2 separate regions of the Homo sapiens genome follow, and region 2 is linked to region 1. The links are contacts of gene promoters, found by promoter capture Hi-C in blood cells and fetal thymus (Javierre and others, 2016). All regions are on one chromosome and are shown on one strand. Each heading gives the region's core, a stretch centred on a gene start or on the middle of the fragment in contact. The rest is flanking DNA. Distances are from core to core; before and after follow the strand shown. Region 1 holds the start of VEGFC (vascular endothelial growth factor C). Region 2 overlaps NEIL3 (nei like DNA glycosylase 3).

What was found. The method cuts DNA at HindIII sites, captures the fragments that hold promoters and counts their contacts. A CHiCAGO score of 5 or more calls a contact.
Region 2: a contact is called between a fragment that was not itself captured here and the fragment with the promoter of VEGFC in region 1, in 1 of 17 cell types (endothelial precursors). The highest score is 5.7, in endothelial precursors.

The regions. Positions count from the first base shown.
Region 1 is chr4:176,789,158-176,796,702 of GRCh38, reverse strand. VEGFC (vascular endothelial growth factor C) reads left to right here and starts at 3,781. Exons shown (of 7, transcript NM_005429.5): 1 at 3,781-4,538. The coding sequence starts at 4,392. The HindIII fragment of the contact is 3,942 bases long and covers 697-4,638 here.
Region 2 is chr4:177,318,186-177,325,109 of GRCh38, reverse strand. It overlaps NEIL3 (nei like DNA glycosylase 3), which reads right to left. Exons shown (of 10, transcript NM_018248.3): 2 at 2,530-2,651. Among named protein-coding and RNA genes, the nearest start is that of NEIL3, 12 kb to the right of the region's middle. The HindIII fragment of the contact is 430 bases long and covers 1,835-2,264 here.

The DNA of each region.
Region 1 (7,545 bases), core at 2,532-5,031:
CAAATAAAAATATCAGAAGTTAAAAAAATGACATTGTATACTACCAAGAAGAAAATTAGATCAAAATGATATAGTATCCCATTATGTTAAAAAATAACAGGAAGAACTACTGTCAGAAACAGAAAAACATGTCAACAATTATAACTGGAGATTTTAACGTCATTCCCAAACAAGATTTGAACATTATAATAAGCTCAAAATTAATACCCAACAAAAATAAAGCACACACAGAATTAGTTGCAATGATCAGCCATGTCCAGGACTACAAAGAAAGCCTGAATGCATTTCTAAAAGCAACATCATTTATAGCAAAAATTAAATATAATAAAATTAGAAATTGATAAAAATCATATATCCCTAAACTAAGAAAACACAAATAATTTGGGGGTTAAAAATATAAACAAATTAAGATATATTTGCAACTGTTTGCCAAAGGAAGCACTACGTATCAAAATTGAGAAATACAAGTAAAGCAGAATTTAGACAAAACTTGTATTTTATTGATCGACTGATTGATTGCAGAGATGGGGTCTTGCTGTGTTGCCCAGGCTGGTCTCAAAGTAACTTCAAGTGATCCTCCTTCCTCAGCCTCCCCAAATGCTGGGATTACAGATGTGAGCCACCACACATGGCCCGAAACTTGTATTTTTAAACTAAAAAGAAGAAAAATGAACTAAGCATTCAGCTAAAAAAGCTTGAAATGAAGCAACAAAGTAAAACTAACAAAGCAAGAAGGTAGGGAATAACAAATGAGAAATAAAGTAGATGGTCAGAATGGATATTAGAGAATGTACAATGGATATATTATCATCATTATTTTGCCATCCAAAACTATCATCTCCCATATCTACTTGGGAGGCTGAGGCAGGAGAATAGCTTGAACCCAGGGGTTGCAGTGAGCTGACATGGTGCCACTGTACTCTAACTGCACTCCAGCATGGGAGACAGAGCGAGACTCCATCTCAAACAAACAAACACACACACACACACACACACACACACACACACAGACACAAAACACAAAGAACAAAACCTATCATCAAAGAAAACAAAAACTCAATATGTAAAAGAGGTGTTATTCTGGCTGGGGCCCTGCTACCTCTCTTTCTCCACTGACTGAGCAATGCTTTTTGAATAACCAGATTTAGAAGACCTGTTGTAAAATAGGTCTTGCATGAAGCTAGTGATGAACTCACAAACCAGTGAAAAGGACTTTCTCAACCTTTAAAATCTGCTAGTGGCAAAAAGTGTTTCCAGGGGGTAAGGAAGAAAAAAAACCAAAAAGTCCTGAGCAACTATTCGTTTTTACCTTAAGACATTCTGTGTGTGTGTGTGTGTGTGTGTGTGTGTGTGTGTGTGTGTGTGTGTGTGTGTGTGTGTGTTTTAAGTAGAGACGGGGTTTCACCAACGTTTGAAAATATTTATCATGGTCTCCCTAAGATGGACGGTGTTAGCTAGGATGGTCTCGATCTCCTGACCTCATGATCCACCCGCCTCGGCCTCCCAAAGTGCTGGGATTACAGGCGTGAGCCACCGTGCCCGACCAACCTTAAGACAAACAACTACTGCATGATTGTTTTTGGAGACCTTTTTTTTATTCAAATAAACTTTTTGCCAGCATTTTCTGACTCAAAGTATAGCAGCAGGAAGATAACACTTTTGTGAGAAAAAAGTTTGAATACAGCTTACTGCTGTATTTAAATGAAACAGTAGTTAATATGATATTAATATATTTTGGATATATTTTGAGTTTGTTGATTTTCCAGTCTTCACCCGCTGCTAGGCCTGTGGGTGTTGGAAATGCCTGTGGTTCTCAATTTTGTTTGCCTATTAGAATCCTGATGTCCAAGCCTTACTCCAGTTAGACCAGTTAAGCCAGAAAGGCAGAAGGTGTACTCAAGCATCTGTTTTTTCAAAATCTCCTTTTGTGATGCCAAGTGCAATCAAAGTTTAGAATCATTGTAATAGCAAATGGTTGAATGGAAACTCCACCTTCTATTCAAATCCTACCCCAGTCTGCCCTTAGCTGTTCCCTTTTCACAGATCTATCAATGTCTGAAGATAACTATGGCAGGCTGATCAAATATGCATAGAGCAGGAAGACAGCAAGAGAGTGATACACTGACCATGTTCCAAATCACAAAACATCTCAACAGGCTAGATCATGGACCGAGTCTGATGGGATGGAATTTCATAAAGATACATAAAAAAGCATCTTGGATACAGTAAACTTAACTCCACAAATACAGGGGAATTTAGACGTGACTAAGTAGCAGTACATATGAAAAATTATTGAGGAATTTTGTTGACTTTAAGGGTAGTGTGAGTCAACACTGTGATTTGGCTGCCAGAAAATAAACTCAATCCAAGGCTGTATCAACAAAGGCATACTGTCCATTCTGCATGCTCATTACAGCACTAAGTACCGAGCCATGTTCTCAACCGCATACTTCATGAACATGGAAAGCTAACAGTATGGTTAAGGGGGGAAACTGGAACTGTCATCTTGGGGAATAAAAGGGATATTTAGCCAGGAGTAAAGTTAGCTTAGGGAGACCATGATAAATATTTTCAAAATATTTGAAGGACTCAGTTGTGGAAGTGAGATTAGATTTATTGTGTAAAACTCCAGGAGTCAAAAGCAATAGAGAGATAGAAGGAAATGCTTTTCAGCAGTGTTGCTCATCAATAAAGGGAGTGAACAGCCACACAGAATGGAAGGTTCCCTGTCCTTTGAGATATTTAAGCCTTCAAGTAAATTATGGGTGAGGAGTTTCAAATCTAGAGTTGAACCAGATAAGAAAGTCTCTTCTTCCGGTAAGATATTATGGACCTATAACATCTGTGTACTTAAAAGTAGATTGGGAGTGAAAGGCAGACTTTTGATGTTCTGTACACTGTTGAAACCCCTTAGCGTGGTCCTCTGTAACCTGCTCACCCTGCCCCAAGGAGGCAGCTAGCCAATGCCACCAGCCCAACGGAAACCCCAGTGCTTTTCCAATGGGGAAATGCAGTCACTTTTCTTTGGATGCTACACATCCTTTCTGGAATATGTCTCACACACATCTCTCTTTATCACCCCCTTTTTCAAGTAAACCAACTTCTTGCAGAAGCTGACAATGTGTCTCTTTACTCTCCACGAAGATTCTGGCCCTTCTCTTCACCTGTCAGAAGTTTAGGATTCCAAAGGGATCATTAGCATCCATCCCAACAGCCTGCACTGCATCCTGAGAACTGCGGTTCTTGGATCATCAGGCAACTTTCAACTACACAGACCAAGGGAGAGAGGGGACCCCTCCGAGGTCCCATAGGGTTCTCTGACATAGTGATGACCTTTTCTTGGAACTTTTACAACCCCCAGGACATTTCCAAACTTTGAGCAGGGCTCTGGGGGCCAGGCGTGCGGGAGGGAGGACAAGAACTCGGGAGTGGCCGAGGATAAAGCGGGGGCTCCCTCCACCCCACGGTGCCCAGTTTCTCCCCGCTGCACGTGGTCCAGGGTGGTCGCATCACCTCTAAAGCCGGTCCCGCCAACCGCCAGCCCCGGGACTGAACTTGCCCCTCCGGCCGCCCGCTCCCCGCAGGGGACAGGGGCGGGGAGGGAGAGATCCAGAGGGGGGCCGGGGGAGGTGGGGCCGCCGGGGAGGAGGCGAGGGAAACGGGGAGCTCCAGGGAGACGGCTTCCGAGGGAGAGTGAGAGGGGAGGGCAGCCCGGGCTCGGCACGCTCCCTCCCTCGGCCGCTTTCTCTCACATAAGCGCAGGCAGAGGGCGCGTCAGTCATGCCCTGCCCCTGCGCCCGCCGCCGCCGCCGCCGCCGCTCAGCCCGGCGCGCTCTGGAGGATCCTGCGCCGCGGCGCTCCCGGGCCCCGCCGCCGCCAGCCGCCCCGCCGCCCTCCTCCCGCCCCCGGCACCGCCGCCAGCGCCCCCGCCGCAGCGCCCGCGGCCCGGCTCCTCTCACTTCGGGGAAGGGGAGGGAGGAGGGGGACGAGGGCTCTGGCGGGTTTGGAGGGGCTGAACATCGCGGGGTGTTCTGGTGTCCCCCGCCCCGCCTCTCCAAAAAGCTACACCGACGCGGACCGCGGCGGCGTCCTCCCTCGCCCTCGCTTCACCTCGCGGGCTCCGAATGCGGGGAGCTCGGATGTCCGGTTTCCTGTGAGGCTTTTACCTGACACCCGCCGCCTTTCCCCGGCACTGGCTGGGAGGGCGCCCTGCAAAGTTGGGAACGCGGAGCCCCGGACCCGCTCCCGCCGCCTCCGGCTCGCCCAGGGGGGGTCGCCGGGAGGAGCCCGGGGGAGAGGGACCAGGAGGGGCCCGCGGCCTCGCAGGGGCGCCCGCGCCCCCACCCCTGCCCCCGCCAGCGGACCGGTCCCCCACCCCCGGTCCTTCCACCATGCACTTGCTGGGCTTCTTCTCTGTGGCGTGTTCTCTGCTCGCCGCTGCGCTGCTCCCGGGTCCTCGCGAGGCGCCCGCCGCCGCCGCCGCCTTCGAGTCCGGACTCGACCTCTCGGACGCGGAGCCCGACGCGGGCGAGGCCACGGTAGGTCTGCGTTAGGGTTTGCGGAGAACCCGAGAGTTTGCGTTAGGGTCTGCGGCGGACCCGAGAACCTGCGCGGGGGAAAGTGTGTGTGCTTTAAGCTTGTGTACGTGGGATCCAAAGTTACTGAGCTCAGTGCACGCTGCTTTGGAGAAAAATCTTCTTCTTTTTAAATAGAAAGTTGTTACTAGAGAGGCAAGCAAGTTACACGAGTGAAGGGCCCGGAGAGGTGCCCAGTGAGAGATCCCGAAATCTATTTCAGACTGGTTTCCTCTGGGGCAACCAAGGGGTCTTGAACCCTGCCCAGTCAGCGGGGCTCTGGAGAGTATGAGTTCATTTTGGTCGGGAAATGCTCGTTTCTTTCCCCAGCTGATTCATGGGACTCCAAACAGATTCTGGGACACTGGTGATCAGTCAACCCAGCCTTACTTTCCTGGAGTGTTCATAGTCTGCAGAGCACCAGGCGCTGTGAGCGACTTTAGAAAAAAAGTGTCAGGGACTTTAGTAACCAGGCTCCAGAGCTTTCAGAGTTCACTTGAAGTTGGTCAGACTTGAGATGTAACGGGAGATTAGAGTCAGTTAGATCACAATCAAGCAATGCAAGGCTTGTTTCAACTTTATAAGCTCTTCATTCCTAAAATCTGGTCATGAGATACTGCAAACTAAGTTTTTTTTTTTCTTGTTTGGGTTTTTTGTTTGTTTTGTTTTCTTTTAAATAAGAGGTGTTTAATCCTTTGCCTGAAAATGTTGCCAAAATACTTTTGAGGCATCCTGATTTTGAAAAAGGATTTGTGTGTGTTCCTACTTCTTACTGGCTCTTCCAAAAGAGTATATCTTTATCTAAAAAGTTCATACCTGCCATAACCATATAGAGTATGCTTAAGAGAGTTCCTAAAGAAGTTATATTCGACATTTCAGTTCAAACACTTGCAGTACCCCTTGCTGGAACTATACTGCGGTAGTTTATTTCAACTGGTGGCAAGTGGAGAGGTACCTGTGGTGTGTTACAGTCAACTTTAATTTGACTGTTGATTAACACATACACAATGTGTAGAAAATAGCCTTATATTTTGAAATATTTTATTTATATTTATATTTTGAAATACACTTAAAGATTGAGAAGACTAATTTTTGGAAATCAAACTACCTTTGCATTTAAATTTTGGGAAAACATTAAAATGTTGGAATGTGTAATAATTTAATATAGGGGTTAAAGGAATGCCTCTTGAGTAAAAACAATATACATGAAATAGAACAGACTGCATTCTGTGAATCACAAAAATAATTTTCAGTGCCTATACTTACATTGCCGTAACTATAGTGATGAAAATATCTTTCTGTTCTTAAATACCGCAGAAATGTAATAATCGGCTCAATAACGCTTCTGATAATTTGAGTCCTTGATTTTGCAGTACCTATTTGCTATTTCTGCAAAGTCAAAACTAGTAAAAGTATGATTTAGTAAGGCAACATCTCTGTATTGGTTACGGTCACTTACTTTGGTTTACAGTAAGAAAATGTGCAGTAGAGAGTAAAATGAGAAACATTCCCTGATAAGCCAATAGCCTGTATGAGAGTCACTCACTGCTGGGTGAGTCTAGAATTAATGTACCTTGAGTGTGTGTGTGTGTGTGTTTACGTGTGTTATGTATAGGTATGGGATTGGAGGATTAAAAAAGTTAACTTATTTTTAACTTTCAAAAGTGTCTTCGTTGGTGATGTAAAATTTGCCATTGGTGATATGGCAAATTTTACCATTGCTGTGAAAATCACTATGCATTTTTGTTTGCAAATGTCGCTTTTCATATTTAACCATTTTTATATTCTGTATGGTGAATATGGGTTAGTATTCTGCATGTGATGTGGGTTCCTTTCCTATGTGATGAAACATCATTTCCCATATGAAACATCATCTCTGAGTTCCATAGACCACAAAGCAGTATTTCATTGCTCCATTAAAGTGTCGTTCCCCAGTGGGTGAATAGAGCCTTGACAGGGCATGTGTCATTAATGCATTCAGTGAAACTGCTGTGTCCTTGCTATGAAACATGTCACACAACTGCCAAGAAACTGATATGAAGACTCTATGTCTCTCCCTAGTGGCCTGTACAAGCACCACATTTAGATTTAAGCACTAGAGAAGAACTGGGGAGAAATCAATTGTTAATTTTCTATAACTACATGAACCCCAAGAAAATATTTCAGAAGGTAAACAGAAGATGCTAAATATCTATAATCCCAATAGATGCAATGTTTTCATAACTTTCACCTAGGAACTTTTTTAATATTTAAAAAATCAAAAATAGCACACAAACTATGAACCAAGGTTAGCCATCCAGCCCTTCAGCCCACCCGTAAAGCCATGCAAAAGATTGTAGGTAAAAATCACAAATAGAATGAAGATCTCCTTATTCCTCGACTTATATTTGCATTTACTGGATTCCTATTTCTAGTTATTTGTGGTTGCATGACTTACTGAAAAGTCTTAAAATGTTTCTCTGAAGGATGTTAACACAAACAAGACAGTGTCAAAAAAGTAAGGCAGGCAAAAGTAAAATTAACTGGACATGATGGGAACAAAAGAGAATAGCAAGTCTGAAGCTGTTCTATTTACAATTTTTCTTATAGTATATGATTATGTTTGTCAACATCTACTCTTATAAGAGATTTCTGACATTCCTCTGAGTGATGCTACTTATATGAGGTTTTAGATATAGAAAGTTCAATTCATCTTTCATTTTGATTTCCACTCCATTATAGTCTTCTGAACTATGAATATCTGATTGATAGCTATTTATTCACAAGACAGTTATCAAAATTGCTTCATAGAAAGCAGTTAATTACTGATCTTAGTGGCATATGTCTAAGACCCGTAGATCTCTAATCCTGTCCTTTTCAGTTGAGTTGAGAAAGACGGAGGGTAGTGGATTTAGATTTCATTTTGGACTTCCAGTTCTGGTTCCGGTTCCTCTTGAGAGGAAGGTCCTGGCCTCCTAGTTATCTCCATGTG
Region 2 (6,924 bases), core at 800-3,299, 530 kb before region 1:
GCAAAGCCTCCAAAATATCTCAGATATAGTTTCTGGTCTCTGAGCACATATAACTTCAAAAGCCAGAGTCATGTAAATCACAAACTGGAAACAGAAAATGGTCTTGGAAAAATATATTTACTTATCTATCTATCTATCTATCTATCTATCTATCTATCTGTTTTTTAAATTTTAGTCCAAAATGCAACAGCTATGTCCATTTTGATTAAAATGATAGCTTCAGTGTGAGTGCAGCTGGGTGAACATGCATATAAACATTCGCACACACTATACTGGCAATGTGGCATTGTATGCATCCAAAGTTAATAAAGATTACACCTGGTAGTGGGATTGAGAATGTATTACTTTACACTTATTTTCATTATTTTTCAGTTTTCTCTACTGAGTACTTGTTACATTTGTAGCAAAAACTTCAAGTGACGTTTGTGTTGTTTTAGTTGAAGAGTTAGTGGAAAGTGTTCAGAAGTTGTACAGGTATTAATCACACATAACACAATAGTGCTCCTAAAATAAATGTGTATCAAATAATTTTTAGTATTCCTTGGCACTATCAGGAGCACTTGAATATATCACTTAGTAGGTAGAGAAGTAATCACTCTCTAATTTGTATCTTTCTGATGTGTGGATTTTTACAGGGCAGATTCTTTTAGAGGCTATGCTCGTATTCTACTTTCATTAACAAATGAATCCCAGGAGATTCAACCAATGAATCCCAGGAGATTCATGGCCCAACCTATGAGATGCACACACTTTATGACTAAACTCTGCGGGCAATTTTGCTTGTGAAAAGTTGGGTATCAAGGGAAAACTGTGAGCAACCTTTGAAAGTGTTTCCTGCTATATGCTCTATCAAATGCAGATGAGCCAGGTGGGTGGGAGGCAGAAGTCAAAAATGAAGACTACATTTCTATTGCAGGTGCACAGACCTGCAGCCTCACAAAAAGATCACATTTCTTTGAGAGAGTTATCCATTCCTCTAAGAAGCACAGGTTGGAAGTACATTTTTTGAACTTCTGTTACATTGTGAAAAGAGGGGCAAATGATTTTAGGTTCAGATTCCAACAGCAGATCTGCCATTGACCTTGAATTGTTACATCCAATAGTTGTTATGGCTGCAGGAAACTGAAAGGAAGCAAGCCACTGCATTTTTCCCACCCATATACTGACATAGGTACTCTCCAGGGAGGGCACTAGTTCAATGAGTTTGAAGAAGTGATTGTCCTTGTTTAGAACTTCATGGAACACTTACTGACAGCCGTGTGCTGAGAAATGACTTCCCCCTTATCAGTCTGGTGGAGAGCACTTGATAAAAACCCCCTCTCATCTTACAGAAATAAATCTGTACCTAACACCAGAGAATCAATAACATATCAATGTTTTCAACTATCGTGCATAGATCCCATTGTGTACTACTCTATCCAGAGCTATGAGTTTTCCATCACATCAGTCTACTACAGCAGCAGTGTAACCTGCAATATATCATTACTGCATGAACAACTAGGCATATGCTGATGTTATCAATTCCAGACTAAGCAAAACCATGAAGTGACAATGTTGTCCAAGGACAGCAGCTGCTGACAATGAAAAGAGAACACCTCAAAGGAAAAGCAATTACATAAACCCTGGATTACTCTAAATATGTGGTAGATGAGATGCAATAAAGAACAATCATATAGTATCATCTCTTTGTGACAATTATTCACCTTTGGTTAGCATGGGGTCCAGGAACAGGTCTTTTCTTTTAAGAAAAAGGTGATAACTGTGGTCAGTATCTTTAAACAGCACTAAAAACGATTTGAGGAAGCAGTATCAATTTTTACAGTTGGCAAAAGCTTAGGCTAAACTCAGAAAAGACAGAATGAGATTGGGTAGACATATTAACTCAAAGGCCGCTTTCATTTTCCTGCAAAAATTAAACATGTGATCATGCATCACAATTACATATATTTTGACTTTTTTATCATTAAGTCAACAAAGGAAATAGGTTGCTAGTCCTTCTCTGCCAGTATATTAGCCATGAATTTCCATGGGAACTGTGAAACAATGGAGAACCTGTTATTTCTCTGGAAAGTTTTTACACTCTCTAAGTAAATTTCCAAATTCCATTCAAGGCTTCAGAGAAAGCAGGAAGCCAGAAAAATATTTAAAGATCAAGTGATACATTTAAACCAAACTAGGGCCTGTCACAAATATAAAGTAACCGATGTCACTGAATACAATAAGCATTCGGTAAAAACAAGGAGAGACTTGTGGTATAGGAAGCTTGGGGACTAGCAAAACAGATGTGTTGCTCTAATACATCTTGGGAAGCCCTGTAAAATGACTGTCTTCCAAGTGATGATGACATCAGAATTTATTCTTCTGCTGTTTATTGATTTCCATGATAGAATCACAACCTCTCATATTGGAGCTCTCTTAAAAACACAGTACTTCCTATATGATTAAATGTGACACCCGGCAAACTCCATCTAGCCTTCTACGCATCTTTAAATATAGAGAGATAAGATGTATCGTACAGGCTTATCTTACCGTAAAGCTTTTGGTCCAAAGTACATAAAGAGCTCCTTCCCCAAAGTTTCCACGCCACTGTAAACATATCCATTAAACAGGCTCAAGACATTCTGGCTGGAATCATTATTCAGTGCAGCAGCCTAGTGGAAAATACATGTACACACATAAGCACACACACACACAAACTCTAAGCAAAAGCATTATTTAATTCTTAAATGTGTTTATATTACTTCACGCCCAGGTGCATTCCAATGAGAAGAATAATCTCCAACAAGTCATGTAATGTAATCGGCTGTTTACATACATTTTGTCAAATCACTATGCAGTCATTTAAAGAGAGAGAGGCCAAAAAAATTAAGTGAAAAAAAGTAATTGGTAGACAAGCAAAATAAAGTTTCTTCCAGGACCATATAGCTCTGTGCATATGAAAAGAAAGCATAGGAATACAACACGAATGTTCTAAAACTAAAAACTGGAATATAGGTTCTTCCATTTCCAGAAGTATATAGCCAAGTTCCCTGAAAGAGTGGTCAGATAAAAACAGCTACAAATGACAGATGATAAAATATGAAAACAAAATATTTTTAACTTCACCGATGAACTTTTAAGCTAGTATGAAATAATAAAAGGTCAAAAACTAAAAGCGGGAGAGAACCCTGAGAGGTAGTAGGGAGAGCTGTGAAGCCAGCATCTATCCTAAGGGCATTGATTGAAACTAAGGAATGAGAGCTTCAATTTTCACATGAAACTAAGGAATGAGAGCTTCAATTTTCACATCTTGTGAGGGTGCAGGAGATCAGAGATAAAAACCTGCGGCCCCCTGAGTAGGGGAATCTAATTTGAGACCTGTCCTATTCCAAGCACAATGTTAAGAATAAAGAAAAAATAAACTCATATTCCCTTTCCCCCATCAGCCTTGCAAAACCAAACAATATATTGTTAGAATGACAACATATAGGCAGAATCCTATAAGATATTCGAGGAAATTATAAACATGAATTAAACAGAAAACAAAAATATAAAATGTAGGTTCTTCTGTGGGAGAAGAAAAGAAAGGGCGTTTGGTTTAGATTTTAGTAATGCCCTTTTTCTTAAACTGAGCATTATGTATACTGGTGTTTCTTATGTCATTATTTTTTATTATTTATATATGTTTTATAAACATTATTTAATTTAAACTCAAAATGTAATAAAAATGTAAAACTTAAGACATGCGTAATTATTATATAAGATAAAATAGGGTACACAGAATTACATCTACGCATTAACTCAGTCTAAGGTAATATCCTCATTTACCTCTAACTTCTTTTGTGTTTTTCTCAAATGGGCCTAAGGATCCTCAGAAGATTCTGAACGAAACCTTGGTGGGCAGTGGGAGTGGGGAAATGTCAAGATATAATTATAAAACAGCTTTAGATACAGAGTCTAGAAACAAGTCACAATTTTTCCTCAATTTAGAGTGAAATGATATTGTTCAGTGATTCTCAAACTTTTGATTTTACAGACATTTGTCATTCTAAATGCTTAAGATGACATGTCCACTCTATTCTTTATTTCACTAAATTGGTCTTTGTTAAGATACAATCACAGTACTTAGCTCAAAGAGAGATAACAGGGAGATAAAGAAAAAAAAAAAAAAGAGACAGACACTATTCTTCCACTAAACCCATTCAAGGTTGAAATAGCTACAGTCAATGCCAGAATTTTCCAACTGCCTGAAGTTCAGGCGACTGGCTTTATATATCCCTCCTTTGTTTAAGAACTGGAGAATCAATCACTGGCTTAGAATGACAGATAAATTAAATGCACAGGAGTAATTAAAAATGACAGCAGGCCCGGCGCGGTGGCTCACGCCTGTAATCTCAGCACTTTGGGAGGTCGAGGCGGGCGGATCACGAGGTCAGGAGATCGAGACCACCGTGAAACCCTGTCTCTACTAAAAATACAAAAAAAATTAGCCGGGCATGGTGGCGGGCGCCTGTAGCCCCAGCTACTCGGGAGGCTGAGTCAGGAGAATGGCGTGAACCCTGGAGGTGGAGCTTGCAGTGAGCCGAGATCACGCCACTGCACACCAGCCTGGGAGACACAGCGAGACTCCGTTTCAAAAAAAAAAAAAAAAAAAAAAAAAAAAAGACAGCAGTCACTTCCTGTTCTGCACAAATCACAAAAAAAGAACCTGTTGGAGACTGTAGGTATATGCCACCATGTCCTCAAAGCTCAGTCTTTGGTTGCCCTTTCTGGGATGAACTCTAGTACCTATCAATAATTATCAAGCACTGGGAAGGCAGGCTTGAGTACTCAGTGAGGAAAAAACACATTTGCCTTCTTTTTATATAAGTCAATCTTTTAGAGCCCTGAATTGACAAACACCAAGAATCTTGATGCTTTTCTCCTTAACAGGAGACTTTAAGTCACTTAAATACACTTCAGGCCAAGTATAGATTACAATAGTGGGTTTTAAGGTAGGTTTCCATGACAACCAATTAGTATGTAAAAAGTTCCTATAAACTTGCCAGGACACTTTTAAGATGATGATATACAAAGCAGATATAGATCTTTGTCTCAATATAGATTAGGTTGTACATTTTCAGGATCTCAGATTTAAGTTCTTACTAACATTTTAAACCCACATTTATAAGTCAATGGTGAGAGCCTTGTTTCCCCACCACTCCAATGTCAACAATCTCTTATCTTTTTCCAACATTCTTTACTAGCAACTTGTTTTAGCCATACCCTGTGAAATTTTCTAGCTTTTCTTAGAGCTCCCAGCAGAGGCCAGGTGATGAATATTATCCCATTTTACACACACACACACCCTTCTCTCTCTCTCATATATAGTAGCGTTCCCTGCTTCTTCGGTAGGAAAGAATTTGCTACTACTGCCACTCCTGTGCTTTAATCTCCTTTACCCCTTTAGGTTTTATAAGTTACATCTGATGTAAAGGCATAAGAATGACACATTACACTTTGGGGACTTGCGGGGAGGGACAGAGGGGCGTGAGGGATAAAAGACTACACATTGGGTATAGTGTGCATTGCCCAGGTGATGGGGGCACCAAAATCTCAGAAATCACCACTAAAGAACTTATCCTTGTAACCAAACACCACTTGTTCCCCCAAAAGCCTACTGTAATTAAAAATAAGAAATTAAAAAAAGTTAAAGCTGAAACTCAACATCTATCTAATGTCCGATTGGCCAATTATGAAATCCTATGTCAGCTACCATATCACTGCTTCTCAGTGCACCTGACTGGCTCTCTTCCCTTCTTCCAAGATGGGAAACCATCTGACTGGCCTGCACTCACTACTTGTCTTCTCCCTACCTGGACCTTCTTTCTTCTGCTTAGTTCTGACTTTACCAGGTTTTATAATGGCTACTAGCAAAGAGACAGAGAAGTAACCTTGAAATAGACAGTGCTGTCACAACACCTAATAAGACAGTACACGAGTCCCAAATGTCTCATGTGAAGTCTGCTCACATCACCAAGTTAACAGCTTTGACAAGAACTTACACCATTTAGTTAAAAACTCCAAAAGCCAACACCTGTAACAGTTCATGTTATTCACCTGGCTTTGTCTACAACAAAAGTGGCACGTGACATCTGGAAAGATGATCCTCCTCCCCATTAAAAATGGCTGTTTACCTGGATAAACTCATTTTAGAAAAGTTTACTGACCTTCCACTATGTGTCAGGCCTTGTTCTAGATGCTTGGGATGCATCCATAAATAAAACAACTAAAACCAGCTGCCCTCGTGGAGTTTATGTTCTAGTAAGGAAAAAGAGTAGAAAAAGAGTAGGCAATAAACACAATAACACAGTATGTTAGAACATTCGGAAAAGAAATGGAGATGAAAAGGAGAGAGCAAGATTGGGGGAGGGTGCAACGGGTTGCAATTTTAAAGGAGCAGTCATAATTTCATCAAGGAATTGAAATTTGGGCAAGTTTTAAATAAGTGAGCCATGATCCAGGCAAAAGGAATGACAGAGCAAAGGCCCTTGTATGCCATGGCCCAGAGAACAAGAGGAAGAGTAGTAGATAGATTTTCTGATTTTACTCTATCAGTTCTGAAAACTTTGCCAATTTCCTGGGGAAGTTTTCTACTCCATGAAGACAACTGCCCCATTATCAAAACGCCCAAATCTAATTCAGCAGCACTGCCCCATTGAGTTTTGTTGTAACTGGCAAACCAAAATACTTACAGAAATAATGTGTAAAATTTTTTGTATCATTTAACCTCAAACCACCATATGACATACATTTCAGGTGAGATCAATTGAAAAAACAAACAGGAAAAAACTGACAAAAGTAAGGGTTCTTAATGGAAACCTCAACTTCTTTTTACCCCAATATTAAAATGCTTAGGACTCCTAATAATATTCATTAGGAAGAGACTCAAAACTAGCCATCCTG